Linked DNA regions of Homo sapiens: region 1 is linked to region 2. Evidence: promoter capture Hi-C in human tissues and cell types (Jung and others, 2019). All regions are on one chromosome and are shown on one strand. The core of a region is centred on a gene start or on the middle of the fragment in contact, and the rest is flanking DNA. Distances in the headings are between cores, read along the strand shown.

The links. The method cuts DNA at HindIII sites, captures the fragments that hold promoters and counts their contacts. A contact is called where the count stands out against the background at its distance.
Region 1: a fragment that was not itself captured here is called in contact with the fragment with the promoter of VWA3B in region 2 in 2 of the 25 tissues and cell types used here (bladder and mesendoderm cells).

Annotation. Positions count from the first base shown.
Region 1 is chr2:98,179,542-98,184,552 of GRCh38, forward strand. VWA3B (von Willebrand factor A domain containing 3B) reads left to right here. Exons shown (of 28, transcript NM_144992.5): 9 at 1,475-1,671. Among named protein-coding and RNA genes, the nearest start is that of VWA3B, 95 kb to the left of the region's middle. The HindIII fragment of the contact is 8,998 bases long and covers 1-5,011 here.
Region 2 is chr2:98,083,984-98,089,116 of GRCh38, forward strand. It overlaps VWA3B (von Willebrand factor A domain containing 3B), which reads left to right and starts at 3,184. Exons shown (of 28, transcript NM_144992.5): 1 at 3,184-3,380. RefSeq lists enhancers at 2,912-3,412, 3,309-3,378, 3,413-3,913. The HindIII fragment of the contact is 7,495 bases long and covers 1-5,133 here.

The DNA.
Region 1 (5,011 bases), core at 94-2,593, 94 kb after region 2:
GAGGCAGCCTCCTAGCCTTCGCGTGTTGATCGCCTCCACCTCATCACTTCTCTTTCCACCACATTACAGAGCATTTTCACGTGACCTACCTTCCTTCCTTTCTTCCTTTCTTTCTCTTTTTTCTCTTTCTTTTCTTTCTTTCTTTCTCTTCCTTTCTTTTTCTTTCTTTCTTCTTTCTTTTTCTTCTCTCTCTCTCTCCTTCCTCCCTTCCTCCCTCCTTCCTTTCTCTCTTTCTTTCTCTTTCTTTTCTTTCTTTCTTTCTTTCTTTCTTTCTTTCTTTCTTTCTTTTTCTTTCTTTCTTTCTCTCTTTTTCTTTCTTTCTTCTCTCTCCTTCCTCCCTCCCTCTCTCTCTTTCTTTCTCTTTCTTCTCTCTCTCTCCTTCCTCCCTTCCTCCCTCCCTCCTTTCTCTCTTTCTCTTTCTTTCCTTCATCTATCTCCTTCCTCCCTTCCTCCTTCCCTCCCTTTCTATTTTCTTTCTTTTTCTTTCTTCTCTCTCTCCTTCCTCCCTCCCTCCTTTTCTCTCTTTCTCTCTTTCTTTCTTTCTCTCTTTCTTTCTTTCTTTTCTTTCTTTCTTCTGTCTCTCTCCTCCCTCCCTCCCTCCCTTTCTCTCTTTCTTTCTTTTCTTCTCTCTCTCTCTTTCTTTCTGTCTTTCTTTCATTCTTTCCTCTTTTTTGATGGAGTCTTGCTCTCTTGCCCAGGCTGGAGCGCAGTGGTGCATTCTCGGCTCACCGCAACCTCCGCCTCCCAGGTTGAAGCAGTTCTGCCTCAGCCTCCCAAGTAGTTGGGATTACAGACACCTGCCACCACACCTGGCTAATTTTTGTATTTTTGGTAGAGATGCGGTTTCGCCATGTTGGCCAGGCTGGTGTTAAACTCCTGACCTCAGGTGATCCACCTGCCTTGGCCTCCCAAAGTGTTGGGATTATTGGCGTGAGCCACCATGCCTGGCCTCACATAACTTTTCTCACTGGATTGCTGCAGTTTACCTAGGAAGGCCAAGCAAATACTGTCTTCCAGCTGCAGGTGAAGAATCCTGCCTAAGCTCAGAGAGGTCAAGTGGAGTGACTCACCCAAGTTTGAGCAACTTGCTAGAAGGTGATGGAGCCAGGCCTTGAAGCCAGAGCTTCTGACTCCATCCTTACACATACATGGCTCCTGACACACAGCCTTGGTCTACTGGTCACCTTCACCCAGGCATGGGGCCAGTCAACTTTGGTAGAGGAGGAAGTGAAATAAAAAGTAACCCTGCTTTGCAGTCTTTTGAATTATTAGGTTGGTGCAAAAGTAGTCGTGGTTTTTGCCATTAAAAGCCTAATAATTCTTTGCCAGTCCTGCTTTGGAAAGCTGTTTTCTGAAATGAAACATGGGCTTTGTGTCTAATAAAGAACACGTTCCAAGTTGGTCAATATTAAGTTGGGGGTGTAATATGAATGGCTCATGCAGTATGAATGGCTGACAAGCTGTGATTCTACAGAGTCAGAAACAACCTCTGTTGAGATTGCATCGAATCCAGAAGACACCTGGGACTCTAAGACATGGCTGCAGAAATATGGCTTGAAGGCCCAGAAGCTATCCTTGTATGATGTGCTTGCCGACTGCTCTTTCCGCCACGCTGATGGGGTTGTGGATATAAAAGCCAAACCGGAGAATGAGTCCGTGCAGACCAGTGCGGTAGGTGAAGTGCACTCCTGGGAGGGGCTGGGGCCTCCCCTCAAGTCCTGGGTGGGTGAGGCCTCCATCGGGTCAGAAGGCAGGGGAAGGGGCAGCAGGGAGAGAAACCAGCTTGGGTTTCTGTGAAGAACAGGGTTCCTCTGTTTCCCTCCTCACCCTTCTCCAAAGGGCATCTGTGGGAGTGGAGATCAAGGCTGGGAATGAGTTCTAGACATCAGTGAGTTGTACATAAGCCAGGGGCTGGGTTTGGAGAAATCAGGCATTATGAGTTTCAGAATTATTCAACATTATGCAAATAGAGAAGCCCTTTGTTCCCCCATATTGAATGGAAAAGAGAAATTGCTGGTGAGTATGCCCAGCGCAGCAGGCGTTTCTGTGGTCCTCTTGTATTTTCCCTCATTATTCCAGTGACTAGCAGCCAGCATACAGCGCAATCCCAGCAAATAAGGAGTCAGATCCTCCAAAGGGCTATAACCATTAAAAACTTTGAAAGCTGCAGTTCTATTGTGGGTTTTGTAGGAATACAGCTTCTCCTAGTGCCTGACTCTGGCTCCCAATGAAGGACAGTGCTCGACAGCAGTGCTGCCTTAACTCCAGCATCATGCATATGAGTCAGTAGGTCCGAAATGTGGCTCAAGAATTTGCATCCATAACAACCCCCAGATGATGCTAACACTGCTGGTCCAGGGGCCACACCTTGAGAAGCAGAGAGGTGTAGAACAGGAACCAGAAGACAAGGTGTCAAAGGTTTAGAAGCATGGAAAGACTAAGAAGTGTCCCAATGTGAAATAGAAATCAGGATAAAATGAACATGGCAGATTTGCAAAACCAAAGGCAGGCTCTTTCAGGAGGTGGCAAAGTTCCAGGTACATGCTGTGAAGTGAACCTAAAATGCAAGCCCAGGGCAGACAGGCAGGTGACAGGCGGGTGACCGCAGCCCAGAGGAGACACCTGGGAAAGAAAATCAAGGCCCCCCCCTCAAATGCAGTGTCACCTCATGTATTCTTGAAGGCTCCGATTCAAAGTCAGGGTCATTACTGAGATGTTGTAACTCCAGCAGAGGGGGAACTCCAGTCCTGTTGCCACTTGTTATTAGGCTGGCCGGCCACTGAGCCCTACATGCCCTCCATGGAAAGGGCACTGTCCGTCGGGGCTATGTGAGCCACACCATGTTATGTTCTTGCCCCCTCACTGCTGTGCATTTATGACAAACTGCAAGGAAGAAAATATAAAAACTGAATTAGAAAAATGCAGAATTGATGCACGACTTGTTTCCTGGCTTACCCTAGGATGCAGGGTAATTGCTACAGCGCAGGGAAAATCTCATTTGTGGGTTTCCTCCCCCAGCACAGTTTTCTGGTTTTGTAGACATTATTCTGTAATGTTCAGGAAATCACACATAACTAAATTTTCATTTTAAAAATAGGCCAGGCATGGTGGCTTACGTCTGTAATCCCAGCACTTTGGGAGGCCAAGGCGGGCAGATCACTTGAGGTCAGGAGTTCGTGACCAGCCTGGCCAACATGGTGAAACCCCATCTCTACTAAAAATACAAAAATTAGCCAGGCATGGTGGCACGTGCCTGTAATCCCAGCTACTTGGGAGGCTGAGGCAGAACCCGAGAGGTGGAGCTTGCAGTGAGCCAAGATTGCGCCATTGCACTCCAGCCTGGGCGGCAGAGGGAGACTTTGTCTCAAAATAAAATAAAATAAAAAATACATTAGATTCTGGATATTTCAAAATATTAATCCCCATCAATTTGAACATAGCTTACTGCAAACTGACAACAATGTAGTATATTCAAGCTAGCTCTAATACTGATCATCTCCTAACTCATTCTTGTCAATTTTAAATGAAATTTTACAGGATCACTTTGAATAATTTGGCTTACAAGAGGGAATTTTACCTCAATTTTTTTGTGCTAGTCAACTGTATTATGGTAAAGATTGAGAATTATTAATATATAGTACAGCTCCCTTTTTTTTTTTTTTTTTTTTTACAAATACTGATGAGAAAGGGACAGTTTTATTTTTAGTCTTTGGGACTACATACTGAAACTGGATTCACACCTAAAATTGTGATGTGTATAAAGTAGGAAGAAACTAAGGCTGTGAAATAGGTAGATTATTTAGGGTTCCCCCAGACTCCCACTGGGCAAGACCCCCTAAATATTTAACAATAAAAACTAGTTTATAGGAACAGACCCAGGAAACTCGTTAACACAGAAATGAATGGCTAAAAAGGCCTTATTATGTAGCAGTTCAAAGATGATGAACAACTGGGAGGAGGAGACAAACATGCATTTCTAATAAGGGAATTTCAGGCCAAGCCTAAGAACTTGATATTTCAGGCATCCCTGAAATCACACTGCATGCACGGTTGCTTGAGCTCATGCACAAAACCAGGCCTGATGTTCAAAAACCCATTCTTGTCTCTTTGTCTATTTTTCAAACAAATATTTATGGAGCCCCTGCTATGTACCAGTTCATGTGATATGGCGGAAGGCACACTGGATACGGAACGAGAAGTTCTAGGTATAAATGCTGCTTCTAGTAGTTACTGATGATGAGATGTTGAACAAATCATGTGACTTCTTTGAGCTTCACCCTTCATATTTGTGAAATGGGTAGTGTAAAGTGCAAATTTACAAATGCATGTCTGAGCACAGTGCCCGGCACATAGGAGATGCCCCACAGATGTTGCCTTCCTTTTTTTCTGCACTACAAACATTGTGAGTCAGAATTGAGCATTTATGGAACGCTTCTATGCTTTATATTCAAGGTAAACATTTGTGCTCTCAGTTTACACAGGAGAAAACAGTCGCGGGACCTGTGAGAGGTTAGGTAACTCGCTTGAGATTGATCTTGTGGCAGTTGGAGGCAGGGTTTGAACTTGGGTCCACTGGGCTTTCACACTGTGCTTTTCCCATTCTGACACGCTGCTGCCTGACACAGAACCTGCCTCTCTGTGGTGTATGGTCTGGTGGTTTTCCATTTGGCTGTGCATGAGGCACACTCGGGAAATGCCCTTTGATGGGGATGTGGTGAACATGAGAGACAAGACACCTTTCTCCTTCCATCCTTGCAGGGCAGCGGAGGTGTCCACCTCTGCCTGCCTTGGGAGCATAGGACAGATCTCATCATGCCCTTCAACCTCTTTCCGCCTTTTCTGGCTTATCTCCATGCAGTTAACTGTACTGGCAGAAACTGGAGGAAAACAGCCACAATGCAATGCCTGGTTTCACTGTAAATTCATGCCCGCTCATGTCAGTGGATCTTTTGAGCTGCCCAGTAGTCTACTGAGTCCACTCGTTCTCACCAGTCACCACTGGACTCAGGAA
Region 2 (5,133 bases), core at 1,934-4,433:
TGACCTCAGGTGATCTGCCCACCTTGGCCTCCCAAAGTGTTAGGGTTACAGGCGTGAGCCACGGTGCCTGGCCGGGGAGGGTAATTTAAAAACAGACCTGCTTTATGCCATTTAAAATGGGAATATGTCTTGTTAAAAACACATTTAAATCCAGGGAGGTTTCTCTGTGCCATTAGTATCAAGCACTAAATGAACACTGTATGACTGAGATGACAGAAATTTCCTCTTGGAGAAAATTGAAGCCAACAGTTGATCAACACAGCATATAATTAACAGGGCAGGGTGTGGAGTCAGGCTGCCTGGGTTCAAATTCCGGAACCACCATTGAGTGGCCTTGGAGAAATAGCTTAATATTCTGTCTCAGTTTACTTATCTAGAAAATGGACATAATTATGATGTCTCCCTCAAAGAGCTTTTCTAAGTATTAAATGATGTAATATATTTAAAGAGGTTAGAACATGGTCTGACATTCAATACATTCTAGCTATGATTAAGTGTTAATTCAGTCTGGTAAAAGTGAACGTAGTCTTTGCCAAGGGTAGTAAAAAAGCTCTGACCCTCATCAAAGATGTTAGATTGAGAGCCAGGAGTCTACATTCATTGTCCCAAATAATGAATGCTGAACTCAAGAACATCACAGCATAGAGAAACCTCTGTTTGAGCTCTACCTCCCCGTGATGGCCCCTGTCCCCACCTACCTCTCCCAAGGCTGCCCCTGATGGCGAAAACTCCCTTCACCACAAGAGCTAACAAAGGTTCAGCAGGAACTGCCTCACTCTCTCAGTTTCTCCTTCCTCTTCAGAGGGAGTGCCTCTGTTTTAATTCCAGCTCAGGTTCTTTCTCACACATATATACAAGGAGTTAACATTCTCCGTCTCCTCTGGTTCCAGTTTTTGCAGTGGGCTTAGGAAAATGCTTTTCCTCCCTTCATTTCCTTTATCACCCTCCCTCCTCCACCAAACATTCTGATCATGGCCATAAGCCCAAGCAGTGGCAGTGATAGACTTGTATAAAGAAAAGGAAAACCCATTGAACCTGAAAAGTAAACAGCACAAAGGTCAAATAACAACGAAAGGCTTGTCAAAGGCTTGTACATGGTTGCCAAGAGTGTGGTACTGGCAAGCAATGCTTTGAGACTGTACAGGTAGAGAGAAGTTATTAGGGCCGCAGCATCCATGGGAGGGCTTTGGGGAGAGAGAGAAGAGCTAGAGCTGACCCTGAAGGGACGGTGATTCCCAAACTGTGGTAATCTGGGTGGCCTGAGTAAAGTCATCTGTGCTCAGAGGCAGGGACCAGGTGGGTCTCTCTGGGATGGGGGTTTGTGTTGGAGGCAATGAGCAAAAGTCTGAAAGTATAATTTGAGCCCTTAATGGTAAAGTCCAGAAGTTTGACATCAAAGATGGCAGTGATTTGATCAATGTCGCTTACTGAGGTTTAAGGAAAGATACAAATTATCTGTAAAAATGTAAACTCAAAACAAATTTGTCAAAAGTTCAGTATAGTAGTGTATCACCACTGTGCTAAAGGTTTTCTTATTTCAAATAACTCAATAAAAATGAGGCAAACCATTCTGTAACTAGCTAAACTGAAGTCCATACCAACTATTTAATGCTTCAAAATAACCTTAAACTTCTACTCACTTATCATTCTACAATTTAAGTAAGTAATGTTTCACATTTTCAACAGAATGTATGCTTATAGACACATAAACACGAAAGATAGGGACAGATCATCTTGGTGACTTGCACGTATGTGGCAAGTGTCCTAGGGAAAGGAGCAGGCATGGGGTGAAGGTGGGAACAAGAGTGCCTGGCGTGACCATGTGAGGCAGGGCATTTGGCTATGTGTTGCTGTGTGCTCTGTCTCACCCCCGTGACCCAAGAATATTAGTGTGGCAGGGTGTGGACAGCAAGGATTAATGGGTCATTGGCAAACATGGGCGAGGCTGGTGTTTTACTCCCTTCTGAACAGTCTTCAGTACTATCAAGCTTTTGCTTGTTTTTTGGTGGTGTGGATGGCAGGTTTCATTTGCAGGGCCAAATATATATAAACTAATAACTGCCAGGAATGATTTGTGATATGGAATGAAATCTTTCAGTACTTTTTAAATGATAGAGGCATTAAAAGAATGCAGGAGAAATAAATTCCTGTGGATGAAGCAGACTTTTTTTGGGGGGACAGAATTACTCAGTTCTAACATTAACTATGTTTTATTAGTTCTTTGAAAAACCTGCAAATGATCTGGTCAGTTCTATAATTTTAAAATCTAAAATCGTTTACTATCCCAATACCCTAAAAACAATACTTACTGTGGGGTCTTTTATTAAGACTTTAAAGATACTTTTCATAAGCACAATTTTATTTCCTGGTGACTGGAAAAATAGGAAAATATTTAGAGCCTTTTGCTTAATTGATAAGGTAACACTGAAACAAAGGTTAAAAACAAAGCTGAATGGAGAAAATAATGCCTATAGAAATATTCATGTCAAACAGGTAAGAATATTCTTGGCAACTGCAGCCCCTGCCTCCACAATTGCAAAATTGCAGCTCCCTGTCCCTTCTGTCTGTCTCAGCTCCGCCCACGTCCAGTGGCTGAGCTACAACGAACTGCCCCACCTCTTTTAAAGCGTCTTTCTCTGAACTGTGCAAGGAAGAGAGCATCGCCTGACAGTGGTGAGGTGAAAATTAAAACTACACAGGGGTCAATGCTCTGCTGAAAAGTATGAAAAGAAGTTCGTTTGTAGCGTTTCCCGCAGTCTCCTCGCCTCTCCTCGGCCTCTGGCGCCTTCCTCCCCTGTCTGCTCGCACCCTATATTTCTACCCCAGCTCATCAGTGTATTTGTTTGTTAATTCATTCATTCTTTCATTCATATTCTCCGCTGTTGTTAATTTTCCCATTGACAGTAGGCGCAAGGGGCAACGCCACTCGCCCTGTCCCTCTAGCGTGGCCTCTGTTTGGGGGTCTGGGGTGGAGGTCGTCCCGGCCCGGGTGGTTCCGGACGCCGGCTTTCCGCACCTGGCTCGGTGACGGCCTCGGCGCCCCGCCCTCTTGGCCACGGTCCGCAGCCATCGCCCCAGTGAGGGCGCGGTCTGTGGGCGGGGCCGGCTCCAGGAGCCGCGCTGTGATTGGCCGTGTCCAGGCAACCGCGGAGACGCCGTCGTCAACAGACCGCGCTCGGAACCAGAGGCGCGGGTCACAGAGACCTAGAACAGCTGGAATCCTTCGCCCCCGGCGCGCAGCCTTCGCCCGCCGGAATCGCTGCCTTATCCACCAGCGGGATGCTTACCTCGCCCGCCCTCTCGGGTCAGGCGGGCCCGGGAGGATGGGAGGGTGGCTGCTGAGCGGGAGCCGCCACGTCTTCCACCCGACATATTGCCTAGTAAGTGTGGGAGCGATGCCTGCCGCACGAGAGCCGCCGAGGTGCCGAGCCTTCCAACAAGCGGCCTAGGGAGGTCTTGGAAAAATGCCATTTCTGAGGTGGACTACACGCCCACTTTACAGATGCGGAAACAGTACCAGGAAAGCTCGGTGACTTGCCCTGGCCCACTTAATCGTCCGCTACCCAGGGCAAGCCGAGGGTCAAGGTACCGACCCCTCCTACTCTAGAGCTCTTTCCATCACACCTCACCCGAGCCCACGCCCAGCCGCTCTGGTGGAAAAGCGGTTTTCCTAGTTTCTGTCTATGCCATAGGCCAGCAGTTCAAGGTGATGAAGTCCACCTGGGCTTTGGAGGGAACATGGGAACCAGAAGAAACACATTTCCTGAACATAAGGATAAATATGTATAGTCTAAAAGCCAAAGCAACACTTACATGGTTTCACAATCATATCAGTTTCTTTCACCCTCCTTATATGGAAATAAGACTTAATAAGTAGATTTAGTTTCCATTTGGTAGAGCTTTTCCTTTCATTTTCTTGGAAGCTCTGTTTCTTCTCAGCAATGACCTTCCTCCTAAAGCACTCCAATTATTCTCAGATATTGCCTTCTTGACTATTTTCTCAACGGTGGGACAGTCCGTTTCAATATCCTTGTCTCTGTCCACATTATTTGAGCCAATGATCACAGCCAAGCCTTGTCCCTTAAGGGCAGAAAAAATGGGAGGAGGTTTAAGGGTTTCTGGGGAAGAGTTGCATCAGGATCCATCATGAAGCTTCGTCCCAGTTTCCTTTCTTCCTGGAAAAATCATCGTTCACAAATTCACCTAAATCACAAGATATATATCCACCTAGCCCAGACTTCTTTTTCAGAAACTAACAGGGGTATAGGAAGTTTGGGGTGTTGATAATAAAGTAGCTAGAAGCTTATTGAATGTCTAAACTGGATTAATGGACTCTCAACCCTGCACTGTCCCTGAACCTCCGAGCACATAGGACCTTTTCTCTGAGGGCATGCTGACTTCACAAGACTGTCGCCCAGGGCAGCCCAGGAGCATCTGCTTCCAGTAGACGGGGCCCTTGTACAGTTGCCAGCTTAACCTTTCTATTTTCCCCAAAGCTTTGCCTGCCCACATTTTCAGCTCAGACTTTCACTTCCTTGTTTTTCCTTTTACACTTCCTCCTTCTTCTAAGGAAATACTTTCCTATCCAAACTCTATGTATGGTTCTTGGGATGGCCTCTAAAACTTAGGGCAATGCTCAACTCCGGTATGTTGTTGTTTCCGACTTCTGGGTTACTTGGTTCCCCAATTTATAATAACCTCAGCTGAGGAAACTCTGAATAATAGTAAATAAATAAATAAATAGCATAGTTTTATCAGAAAATAATATATCCCCCTTTATTTTTTTTTGAGACAGGGTCTCGCTCTGTCCCCCAGGCTGGAGTGCAGTGGTGCAATCTTGGCTTACTGCAACCTCTGCCCCCTGGGTTCAAGCAATTCTCCTGCCTCAGCCTCCCTAGTAGCTGGGATTACACGTGTGTGTTACCATGCCCGGCTAATTTTTGTATTTTTAGTAGAGACGAGGTTTCACCATGTTGGCCAGGCTGGTCTCAAGCTCCTGACCTCAGGTGATCCGCCCGCCTTGGCCTCCCAAAGTGCCAAGAGAGCACTTTGGCACTTTAAGGGGGCATTACAGGAGTGAGCCACCGTGCCCGGCCAATATATCCCTTTTTTAAAAGAGCTGTTTCCTGATAT